Linked DNA regions of Homo sapiens: region 1 is linked to region 2. Evidence: promoter capture Hi-C in human tissues and cell types (Jung and others, 2019). All regions are on one chromosome and are shown on one strand. The core of a region is centred on a gene start or on the middle of the fragment in contact, and the rest is flanking DNA. Distances in the headings are between cores, read along the strand shown. Region 1 overlaps GJB2 (gap junction protein beta 2). Region 2 holds the start of GJB6 (gap junction protein beta 6).

The links. Contacts are between HindIII fragments. The study calls those that stand out against the background at their distance.
Region 1: a contact is called between a fragment that was not itself captured here and the fragment with the promoter of GJB6 in region 2, in 5 of the 25 tissues and cell types used here (H1 embryonic stem cells, lymphoblastoid cells, mesenchymal stem cells and 2 more).

What each region holds. Positions count from the first base shown.
Region 1 is chr13:20,185,949-20,192,212 of GRCh38, forward strand. GJB2 (gap junction protein beta 2) reads right to left here. Exons shown (of 2, transcript NM_004004.6): 2 at 1,522-3,655. The coding sequence starts at 3,633. The coding sequence ends at 2,953. LOC107984553 (a long non-coding RNA gene) reads right to left here and starts at 243. Exons shown (of 3, transcript XR_001749956.2): 1 at 1-243. The HindIII fragment of the contact is 5,520 bases long and covers 473-5,992 here.
Region 2 is chr13:20,230,492-20,236,761 of GRCh38, forward strand. GJB6 (gap junction protein beta 6) reads right to left here and starts at 1,828. Exons shown (of 5, transcript NM_001110219.3): 1 at 1,703-1,828; 2 at 891-1,014; 3 at 207-316. The HindIII fragment of the contact is 5,298 bases long and covers 889-6,186 here.

The DNA.
Region 1 (6,264 bases), core at 1,983-4,482, 43 kb before region 2:
GGTGGGAGGCCGCTTCCACAAGGCTTTTTCTTGCTCCATACAAAGTGCAGACTGATGCTTTGAGATATAGTCAGGATTATCATTTTCAGAGCTCAAGCTCTAATTTCCAGGCATGTGACCAGACCTCTCTATCCATTCCTACAAGTGGTCGAGAGTAGCCCATAATTATTTTGGCTTGGTCTTTTAATAGCTTGAGAGTAATAATCTACATAGCTTGTAGAAGTGAATGTACTTATTTTAAAAGTTCTGTGTTTTTTGATGTTGTTGTTGTTTGGGACAGGATCTTGCTGTCGCCTAGGCTGGAGTGCAGTGGCACAATCTCAGCTCACTGCAGCATGGACCTCCCAGGTTCAAGCAATCTTCCCACCTCAGCCTCCTGAGTAGCTGAGACTACAGGCACATGTTACCACGCCTGCCTGGCTAACATTTTTATTTTTTATAGAAACAATGTCTCCCTATATTGCCCAGGCTGGTTTTGAACTCCTGGGCTCAAGTGATCCTCTCGTCTCAGCCTCCCAAAGTGTTGGGATTATAGGTATAAGCCTCTGCACCCAGCTTAAAAAATCCTATTTTCACAGTCTATGTGCAGAGCATTTTGGAAGTCAGGTAGAAACCATTTCCCATTTTCTATTACCTGGGTGATAGTTGACTGGTTTTTGTTCTTTGAAATCCATTTTAAAAGTGTATGGTCCTCTATGAAAATACTTCTAATTATTGATGTGTGAAATGCTTTGAAATCCTTGGATGGAAATCTTGTACCATGAAAGAACAGAACTGTTGGTGGTGTCTCTGGGAGAGGCTCACGAGGGCCGGGCAAGCCTGTGGGGGTAGCAGGCAGTCACTCCCATGGGGACAGGCTGACCTGGCAGGCTTATTTCCCATGGAAGTGGGCACTGAGGAATAAAAAGCAGTTTCAGGCCAGGTGCGGTGGCCCATGCCTGTAATCCTTGCACTTTAGGAGACTGAGGCAGGGGGATCCCTTCAGCCCAGGAGTTCGAGACCAGACTGGGCAATATAGTGGGACCTCGTTTCTACAAAAAATGAAAAAATTAGTGGAGTGTGGTGGCACACTCCAGTGGTCCCAGCTACTTGGGACGCTGAGGTGGGAGGATCGCTTGAGCCTGGGAGGCAGAGGTTGCAGTGAGCCAAGGTCATGCTATGAGTAACATTTTGAAGGTCCACTTCTGGGATTCATCCAGGAGCTAAACGGGTCATGTCCAGCCAACTCAGCATTCACCAAGGTACGTTTCCAGACCAAACACCACATTGTCCATAGACTGATATGCCTCAAAAACCTGGTAGAGGTGGGCACGGGGTTAGGTAGAAATCATCTTCCTCCCTTCCTTCCCCACCAAACTTTCTGGTGACAGAAGCTTTTCTGTAACTGGGGCAGAATGGGGTCAGACACTCTGGCAACTTACCCATTGGTGTTATGAAATATAAAACATTAATGTATTTATATAAAAAGTGATAGATGAAATTAAAATTTGCTGTTCTATTAAAACCATATTAGATTTTAAATTATTATAGAGATTATATTTTAATGTTTTAAATGTATTTGATACATTACAAAATTATTTTAGTTACAAGCATATCATTAAAGCTATTCTTTATTATTACAAAATGCTTTTACAATGCTATTCTTGACAACAGGAAAATACTTACCCTCACTGAAATATGTGGAGTACCATTTTTTGGAAACCATGTCAAGCATAATGGCAATATTCAGGTTCAATCTTCCTATAGATCTGCTCAATATTTATCTAAACCTTAGCTTCTATTCTTTTCACATGTTATTAGCTATATTTTCACTTAAAAAATTGGAGGCTGAAGGGGTAAGCAAACAAACTTTTGAAGTAGACAAAGCTCATCTTTAATCAACAGACTTTAGAGTCCAGTCTTTCCAAATCTGTTTTTAACGACAGAAACTTCTCCCTCCCCTGCCCCATTTTGTCCTCCCCATTAAATGGTACTGTGTCAATAAAATTCCCAAGCGACCTCTTTAAATCAGCGTTCTTTCCGATGCTGGCTACCACAGTCATGGAAAAGGGAGATGTGTTGGACAGGCCTGTCATTACAGGTAGTAGTTGGTGGTACATCCAGTCTGTATTTCTTACACAAAATTACATCTAAATATTTGACATGAGGCCATTTGCTATCATAAGCCATCACTAGGAACTTCTAGTCTGTCTCACTCGATTGAGGCTACAATGTTGTTAGGTGCTATGACCACAATGAATACAACAGACAGCCTCTCAGCTGTGCTGCAAAGTATTCATAACCAAAAGACCATATTTCAAATTAAATCATAGTAGCGAATGACATACCATTTACATATTACAATCTGAGCCTCTGAAACAGGGGGAACATATAATGGTATCCAGAACATCTTTACATCAAAATAACCTATCATACTACAAAGTTTTCACTTCCAAAAAGTGTAACAGAGTTTAAGGCACTGGTAACTTTGTCCACTGTTAGAGATTAAAACTTCCAAAGCAAATGAAAGAACCAATGTTCACCTTTAACGTGGGGAAAGTTGGCAAAAAGAACCCCAGGAGGACACCCAAACCTTCTCTGTGTCCTCTGTGGAACCTGGCTTTTTTCTCTTGTCCTCAGAGAAAGAAACAAATGCCGATATCCTCTGTTTAAAATATGAAAGTACCTTACACCAATAACCCCTAACAGCCTGGGGTCTCAGTGGAACTAACTTAAGTGAAAGAAAATTAAGACAGGCATAGAATTAGGCCTTTGTTTTGAGGCTTTAGGGGAGCAGAGCTCCATTGTGGCATCTGGAGTTTCACCTGAGGCCTACAGGGGTTTCAAATGGTTGCATTTAAGGTCAGAATCTTTGTGTTGGGAAATGCTAGCGACTGAGCCTTGACAGCTGAGCACGGGTTGCCTCATCCCTCTCATGCTGTCTATTTCTTAATCTAACAACTGGGCAATGCGTTAAACTGGCTTTTTTGACTTCCCAGAACAATATCTAATTAGCAAATAACACAATTCAGTGACATTCAGCAGGATGCAAATTCCAGACACTGCAATCATGAACACTGTGAAGACAGTCTTCTCCGTGGGCCGGGACACAAAGCAGTCCACAGTGTTGGGACAAGGCCAGGCGTTGCACTTCACCAGCCGCTGCATGGAGAAGCCGTCGTACATGACATAGAAGACGTACATGAAGGCGGCTTCGAAGATGACCCGGAAGAAGATGCTGCTTGTGTAGGTCCACCACAGGGAGCCTTCGATGCGGACCTTCTGGGTTTTGATCTCCTCGATGTCCTTAAATTCACTCTTTATCTCCCCCTTGATGAACTTCCTCTTCTTCTCATGTCTCCGGTAGGCCACGTGCATGGCCACTAGGAGCGCTGGCGTGGACACGAAGATCAGCTGCAGGGCCCATAGCCGGATGTGGGAGATGGGGAAGTAGTGATCGTAGCACACGTTCTTGCAGCCTGGCTGCAGGGTGTTGCAGACAAAGTCGGCCTGCTCATCTCCCCACACCTCCTTTGCAGCCACAACGAGGATCATAATGCGAAAAATGAAGAGGACGGTGAGCCAGATCTTTCCAATGCTGGTGGAGTGTTTGTTCACACCCCCCAGGATCGTCTGCAGCGTGCCCCAATCCATCTTCTACTCTGGGCGGTTTGCTCTGGAAAAGACGAATGCACACAACACAGGAATCACTAGCTAGGACAGAACAGGGAGACTTCTCTGAGTCTGGGTAAGCAAGCATGCTTAAATCTCTTCCTGAGCAAACACCAACTCTTACACAACCTCACCAAAACAGGTGAAGACAGAACCAACTTAGTTTGTCATAGGATTAAATGTATAGTTCCCAAACCCTCTTGAACGTGTTTTTAGGTGTTCTCTGATAAAAAGTAGCTTGTTCACCTGAGTAATTCACCCAATCTTTAAACACATCATAAAAATTTGCTGTGCTGGGGAGTGTCATAAAGTCCTCGTTAGCTGAAAGGCACTCAGGGGTTCTGACCGTACCCCTGCATCCTCTGCAGAGCTTCCTTGGGTCTTCCTGACTCTGCAGAAGTTACTCAGCGTTCAACAGCTGCATCCATTTGCAGTCTCAAGTTTTGGCTGTACCACTGGGGCCGATACTAGCTTGGGCCAACCTTGCTCAAAGGCTGAGAGGCCAAGTACAGGAGAACCGTGAGGATAAGATGTCTAGTCTCTCTGCTGAGCCACTTTCCTTAATGTCTTGAATGAATTTTCACAGACGTGGCATGTAGCAGTGAAACTGTTGTTACCAGTGGTTAAGTTTACATTTGAGGCACCCCGAGTTAAAATTTTACAAAGGACCTTGCTTCCTCCTACGTGAAAGGAAGAGGTTAGGAATGCCCTCTTCATGGAGAAAAGCCACTGTGAGCACAGACTTTCGTGTAGGCTTTGTGGATGGCTTGGTGGCCTCACTGTCAGGCTGGCACTGATGGCTCAGTTAGCATATCTGTTTTGATAAGTGCTGCAACAGTGCATTATAATTGTGGGCTGTGGTTTTAATTTCAAAGTGTTTCTTAAAAGACACATTATTTTAAAATGACAGAAAATTCAACTCCCTCGGTTACTGGCCCAGCTAAGCGACGTCACTGCATTGCAGTTCAGCGCTGAAGCTTGGGAGAGTCCCACACTCCTTACTGCAAGCGGATGTGGAGAGGCCAGTGGATAATCTCCTGTGAGCCCATGGCCTTCTTTTCATCCCAGGATGTGAATTGTCTTCACTGATTCATAGTTACACCCTGCCTGCCACAACCAACGCTCTCCTAAACAAGATTCCACCCTCTCCACAATCCGGATGAATCATCTCTTTTCCACCCTTCAGAGCTGGTAGTGAATCCTCCTTCTTCTTTTTCTTAAAAGCATCCTCCTCTCCTCATTTTAGGCAAGTTGCATCCCGTTTTCTGATGGACTCCAGAAGCAGGCTCGTAGTGAATGTCTTTCATGACCCACAGTCGCTGCCACGGGGCACCAAGGTCAGGCAGAAACCATCCAGTGCCACCTTGGTCAGAGGCTAACAGGAGAGAGGTGGCCACGAAAGTTACATCAGATTGACATAGGCCTGTGAAACATTTAGCTTCACTGAGCTTGGGAAAGACAACATCATTGGAAAAAACAATATTTTAGCCCAGGTTCAGCACTGACCCATTGATAATCCAGACTGGGAGGCCCTTAGGTGAGCTGGTTGTCCTGCTACAGCACCCACAGCTCAGGCCAGTCCCGTCCCAACAGCAGAACCACCGAGGACAGCAACATTCCGATTTTAACAAAAGCATCTTATGGAATTAGACATTCTTCATTGGCCCTCACTGAGTGGAAAACAGGATACTCCCCGAAGTAAACTCTCTCCTGGTTTACAACAATACACCTGGCCAAGAATATGGGGCTGCAGGAGGAGGGGTTTATCCTTTGCCCTCTTCCACCTGCCAAACCCAGGTCATACACCCTTCTACAGACCTGTCCAGTTACCATCAGCTGAGAAAAATACAGTTCCGAGAAACCCTATATTGTTATTTTATAAAGCTTGAGTTGAAGCTACCTGTTTTAAAGATCCTTTTTCAGGAAGAGGAGTAAATTAAGATTTACTCCCCAATGGGCTAGGGGGTCATGGGTTAAGAGGGGCTCAGAAGCAGGACGAAGTTGTTTTCAATATTCAAGTCAGAGGAGGAGCTGCCCTCCTGGCCTCCCGACCCTGGGCGGTTACATGCAGCTTCCTACCGGGCCCACGCCATCCTGCACCGCCTGGAGGGCTGCCAGAGGCCAGCGGAGGAGTTGGTTCAGTTCCTTAGGGAAGACACTAGGTGAATCACCAGGATCCAGAAAAGGCAAAAGGGACTCTTCACCCCTTAAATTTCTCCACCCTTAGGTGATGGGTGGTCGACCTTGCCTGGCTGTCCCCAGAGGGTTCCTCCACCCTTCTCACCAGTGTCTGAAATTGTGACCGACTGTGCACAGCAGTTTCGAAAGGGACTCTAAGGTCACATGGGGACACGGCCGTACCACGCTTCTCAAGGCAGTCCCAGGTGCATGGCCACGGAACCCAGCTCTCAGCAGCTGTTAGTTAGGTGAGCGCTGTTCGGGCTGCCTTCCTCCTCCAGTGGGGCAGGATCGAGGCACTGATGGAACCGTCCTGAGGACGCGGGTCTCAGCCGCACACCACCTCTTCGCGAACAAGGGTCCTAAAAATTTTCCTTCTAGGCGGGGAGCACAGCCCGGAAACAGACCCTCGTGAAGTGTTTAGGAAAAAGGGAA
Region 2 (6,270 bases), core at 578-3,077:
CCCTGGGAATAAAAATGGAGCAGGCCCTCTGGGGTTCCAGGTCTATGCTCATGCACTAAGCAACTAAAACAGAAATCATAACCTATGGCAGGTGGCCATTAGAAGGTTATGCCCTCACAGACCAAGAAGCTTGGGTCAGAAATCACTTTCCCACAATTTTATCCCATTTAACATTTAAACTAATATATGCAAACTGCTCACAGCACCTGGAATATTCAAATTGAATTAAAGATGCATGAAGAGGGCGTACAAGTTAGAATTTTTCTTTCGCCATACAGAAATTGTTTAGCCAGATCTTCTGTACTTCTTTTCCTTCCTAACACTCAGAATTCAGAAGAGAAGACATAAGAAAAAAAGCATAAAGTCATCATTACCTGTATCAGAATTTGTTTAAAAAACAACCAGTGGGGCAGGTGAACTGACCAGCGTCTTCCCAGCTTTAGTCACTGCAGTGGCAATGAGGCGCTCTCCACACCCCCAGTTATGTGACAGGCTAGAGCCCTGGTGTTCTCTCTTCAGAACCCCCCTCTCCTCCTTGGCAAGCTTCAAGCAACACCCCCAAAGACGCTGCTGGATCCAAACAACAGACAAAGCTCTCCACAGGAGCAGTTCTGAGCAGCACCCTGCAATTCTAAGGAGACTGCATGGGGGCAGGACATTTTCTTCTAGAACACTGGTTAGATTCTGCTAGAACTGGGGCAAGAAAATAGCTGTATGGCATAAAGTCTACTTGAGGGAAAAGAACAACCCGGCACGGTTACGTTCAATCAGACACTAAACAGAGTGCACGCCCACCCAGGGGACACTGAGGTCGCTGGGCCAGTGTCCCCGCCTGGTTGCAGGTCCCTAACCCCTCCGGGAGTGCAGAGCTGCGGGCAGGCCACACTCACCCTGACCCTTCCTGCTCCCCAGGAAGGGAGGTCAGCCCCGTTTGCAAAACACAGGATGCCCGTGACACCGGAGACAGGTCTTCTTCACCGACAGGAAGTGCCTTCTGGTGCCTGCACGTTTTAACTAAGATGTGTCGCCAATTACTTTTAATTACTGTCGTCCACGCTATTGTCATCAGCATTTCACAAGTTTCTCGGAAGCCCATCACGCAGCCCATACCCTGCGGTTCTCCGGGGACTTATGCATCGGCCCAAGTTGAGGGTTTGTCTGAACTGAAACCCGCATCCTAGACCTGGCTTTCTTCTCCCCAAATCCAAGGGGACACCCCGGTGACCCACAAAAGCTTAGAAAATCCAACACGCAGCAAATGAAACGGGGGAAAGGGGCACCGGCCCTCACTCTGGCCTCTTAGACACACGATATGAAACCTTCATAAAACCTGTTGTACAAGTCAAAGGGGACCACGCTGGGGTAAAAGTCAAACCAGTCCATCCTCGTTCCTCTGCGTACAGAGAGAGGGTCCAGCGCGGGCGGCGCCCACTGCCATCGGGCCGGGGCCGGGGCGCGTGGACAGGAGGGTGCGGATAGAGGCAGATCGGGGGCCCGGTCGCCCCACGTGCGGCCAGACACCCATCCCGGCCGCGCTCTGCCGGCTCTGATCCGGTGCCAGACAGGAGCGACAGGGGCGAGGTGGGGACCAGCCGCCGACCTCACCTGTTTTGTTTTCTTGGAGGAAATTCCTCCGCTGGGGGGCCGAGGTGGCACCGCCCGCTCGCCCCCCGCAAGACCCAGCCGGTCCGCGCCCGCTTACCTGCTCTGCGGCCGGCGGCCCTGGCGCGGGCTCTGCGCGGGGCGGCGCCCTTCGCTCCGGCTGGGCAGGCAGGTCGGGCTCGGGCGCCGCCGGCTGTCGGGCTCTCGTCGGGTTTCGGGTGAAGGCCCCGGCTCCCACCTGCTGCGCCTTTTAACCGCGCCCCACCCCGCCTCTGCCCTGACGCGGCTCGGGCGGGCTGCGGGAGGCGAGCGCTGTCACTCGACGAGCCCCCCGCCCCCACCTACCCGGGGCGCACTAGCCGCTGGGCGCGGACCGTCCCCCTGAGGAGCAAGGAGTGCAGGACCGGGGCTGTCCCTCCGGGGCCGGATGCGCAGAGCGGGGACCTTTTTCCCGTGGCGGGGGCGCAGGGTGGGGGACCCCTAAGAAGTGCACAGTGCGCGGGGCCCTCTTTCCGGCCCTTGGAGGGAACGGGGTACCGGGGATGCAGGGGGTAGGGCTCTCCCTCGGGAGCGCAGAGGGCGGGCCCAGCCCCCTCTGCACGGGTGCAGGTGTGGGGCGCCTGCTCAGGCCCTCGAGGGAACTCTTCCTCCCTAGTGCACCCGTGGGGAGCAGTGTGAGGGGCAGGCTGTGTTTTTGCCAGGACACATCCTCAGTCTTTCTGGGTGATCCAGCCTTCTCATAGCCCGCGGGGTGCACAGACCTCTCCTATAGGAGCCTGGAGGTTCTTTATTAATTAATGACCACTTAGAGGAGGTACAGGGGTTGTTTTTATTAATTACCTCCATCCTTTGAAGACTCCTCCGGGGAAGCGGAGCAGGCCTTCCTCGGGACAGTGCACCAGGAGAGACCACATTGCCTCCCCGCTTTTCAGTCAAGACTAGAAAGCTCAGGGCCAGTACAGGGAGTGGTGCAAGGGCTGGTGGGGTGGAAACGTTGGAAGCTATTTAGGCACCTGGCTTTACAGGTTCAAACCTGTCACGCATCGGACAAAAGATGTGTGACTTGCTTATTCTACAAAACTGTTCGGTAATTAAACGTCCCCACCTAAACCATATGCCACTTGTTGGGTCATATTCTCCCACGAAACAATTAAGATGTCTGTTAAAGGTCATGGAATTTGAGCCAAGACTTCATAAAAATCCGCTTTCCAAAATATTTTATTTGAGGAGAACAAGGTTCTTAAAGAATTTGCCCAAGTCAAGTTTTAAAAACTTTGGGGAGGCCCCTGAAATGGCCTTGAACTTGGAGAGTGGAGAGACACAGAAATCTCTAGGCTTTTTAAATTTATTTATTTATTTATTTATTTATTTATTTATTTATTTATTTTGACTAAGTCTGGCTCTGTTGCCCAGGCTGGAGTGTGGTGGTGTGATCTCAGCTCATTGCAACCTCTGCCTCCCGGGTTCAAGTGATTCTCCTGCCTCAGCTTCCCGAGTCGCTGGGATTACAGGCCCGCACCACCATGCCTGGCTAGGTTTTGTATTTTTAGTAGAGCTGGGTTTCACCATGTTGGCCAGGCTGGTCTGGAGCTCCTGACCTCAGGTGATCCACCTGCCTCAGCCTCCCAAAGTGCTGGGATTACAGGCGTGAGCCACCGCGCCGAGCATCTCTAGGCTTTTTTGTTAGACATCCTCACACTGCCCAGATGTGCCCTATGCGGTAAATCTTGGGTGCTCTGTCCTGCCCCACACAATCTAACTGTGGACTTCCCAGTCTTCTCTCCATTCCTCTCCCAAACAGATGCTTCAGCCAGGCTCAGCTGTTTGCATAGTAAAATAATTTTTCTAAGCAGATTGTAAACTTCTTTGGGGATTATAAACAGTTTAAGCTTTTCTTCCTCTTCTTCTTCTTTTGCATTTCTACAATACTAAGTACTTTGCTCATAGTATGTGCTGCTCCATGAGTATTTGAATATTGCTTGGCAAAGCTGAACCAGCATAGCAGATAGTCCTGGAAATAGCTTTTGCTTTTTCTAAAGCATGCCCTGTTCTCAATCCTGCACCTGATTCCATGCAGTACTGTGTCTGAGCATTGACATCCTGGACCAGTGGAAATTGTTCTAGGACTGGTGCAGGATAGAACTTTCAAACCAAAGTTGTCACAGAGAATGTGTTGCATTTGCTCATGTGTGCAAAAATGAAACCATCTCATCACTGTGTAAAATATCTCTTTTTCTGTTCAGGTTATCTATATTAGTCTGCATGGCCTTAACATTGAACACTGTCCTTCAGTTTTTGCTACTCATCAGACAGTCTTGTTGCAGCAGAAATTAAATGTGGACTGTATAAAACTTAAGGACTTGATGGGATGCGCATTTGAAAACTGAAAATTAGTTGTCTTAGTCCATTTGTGTTGCTATAACAGAATACCATAGACTGGGTAACTGATAAAGAAAAGAAATTTATTTTTCAGAATTCTAGAGGCTGGGAAGTCTGATATCAAGATGCTCGCATCTGGCGAGGGTTTTCTTGCTGTGTCTTCCCATGGCAGAGGTGGAGGGGCAAAAGAATGAGAAGATAGGGAAAGAAAAGAGAGAGAGGTGGGGGTGGAGAGAGAGGAAGGGGTTCAAACTCATTGTTTTTTCAGGAACCCACTCTCAAGATAACTAACCCACTCTAGAGATCACAGCATTAATCCATTCATGAGGGCAAAGCCATCATACCTCCTCACCTCTTAAAAGTCCCTCCCATCTTTCAACACTGTTTCATTGGGGATTAAGTTTCCAACACATGGACTTTAGGGGACACATTCAAACCATAGCATTCTGTCTTAGCCCCCCAAATTCATGCCTTTCTCACATGTGAAATACATTCATTCCATCCCAATAGTCCCCAAAGGCTTAACTCTTCCAGCACCAACTGAAAAGTTCAAATCCAGAGTCCCATCTAAATCAGATAAAGCTAAGACTCCAAGGCAGGCATAGCTGGCCTGAGGCAGACTCCTTTCCAGCTGTGAACCTGTGAAATCAAAACAGGCTATCTACTCCCAAAAGACAATGGTGGGGCAGGCATAGGAGAGATATTTTCATTCCAAAAGGGAGAGAGAGGCAGGAAGAAAGGGGTAACTGGTTCCAGCTACATCTAGAACCCAACATGCATGTGTTAGGCTGTTTTTGCATTGCCACAAATAAATACCCGAGGCTGGGTAATTTATAAAGAAAAGACAGGCCGGTGTGGTGGCTCACGCCTGTAATCCCAGCACTTTGGGAGGCTGAGGCAGGAGGATTGCTTGAGCTCAGGAGTTTAAGACCATCCTGGGCAATATAGTGAGACCTCATCTCTACTAAAAAAAAAAAAAAAAAAAAAAATTAGCTGGGTGTGATGGTGTGTGCCTGTAGTCCCTGTTACTCAGGAGGCTGAGGCAGGAGGATCACTTGAGCCTGGGTGATGGAGGCTGCAGTGAGCTATGATCTTGCCACTGTGCTCCAGCCTGAGCAACACAGTGAGACCGGTCTCAAAAAAAGAAAAGAAAAGAAATTTAATTCACTCATGGTTCTGCAGACAGTGCAAGAAACATGGTGCTAGCATCTGCTTCTGGTGAGGGCCTCAGCAAGTTTCCAATCACGTTGGAAGGACAAGGGAGAGCAAATGTCTCACATGGTGAGAGTGCGAGCAAGAGAAAAAGCAGGGAGGTGCCCTATACTTTTAAATAACCAGATCGCAAGTGAACTCATTGGTCACCAAGGGGATGGCACTAAGCCATTCATTAGGGATCCACCCCCATGATTCAAACACCTCCCACTAGGCCTCGCCTCCAACATTGGAGATTACACTTCAACATGAGATTTGGAGGGGACAAATACCCAAACTATATCAATGGAAAAAAAACATTAAGTCTTAAAACTGGTGAATAATCTCCTCTGACTCCCTGTCCTGCGATCTGGGCACACTGGAGTGGGGCTTGGACCCCTCAAGACCTCAGGCAGCCCCTCCCCTATGGCTTTGCTGGGATCAGTCCACCCAGCAGCTCTCAGAGGTTGGAGTCTCATGCCTGCAGCTTTCCCAGGTTGGAGTTGCACACTAGTGACCCTACAGTTCTGGGGGATCGGGGCTCCCCGGCTCCCATGCCTCACCTCTGTGACAAGTGTCTGCCTGAGCCCCTAGCCGGTCCAAGTCATCCTTTGAAATCTAGGTGGAGGCCACCATGGCCCCACAGCTTGTACATTCTGCATGTCTGCAGAGTCAGCACTACATGCATGCCACCAAGGTTTGCAGCTTATACCTTCCAGAATGGTGGGTCAAACTGTGGGGTGCTGTGCCAGAATTTGGGGAGCAGAGTCCCAGGGCAATGTAGGGCAGTGTATGCTGAAGTCCCACAGGCACCTCTCTGGGAACCTTGCCCTCAAAGTCTTAGCTTACCTTGAAGATCTCCGGGTAATGACCCTTCAGGGTCATTGTCTAATTGTCTTGGTGAATAGAAAGAACCTGGTTTCCTTCTATCCATCATCTCTTTAGCAGTGTCTTGGCCACCCTCAATAGTCTGTCGTGAACATGTTTTTTATTCTTACATGGCCAGGCTGAGAGTTTTCCAAATATTTCTGTTCCATTTCCCCTTTATTTATAAGTTCTGTCTTTATTTTACTTTTTGAGATGGAGTCTCGCTCTGTC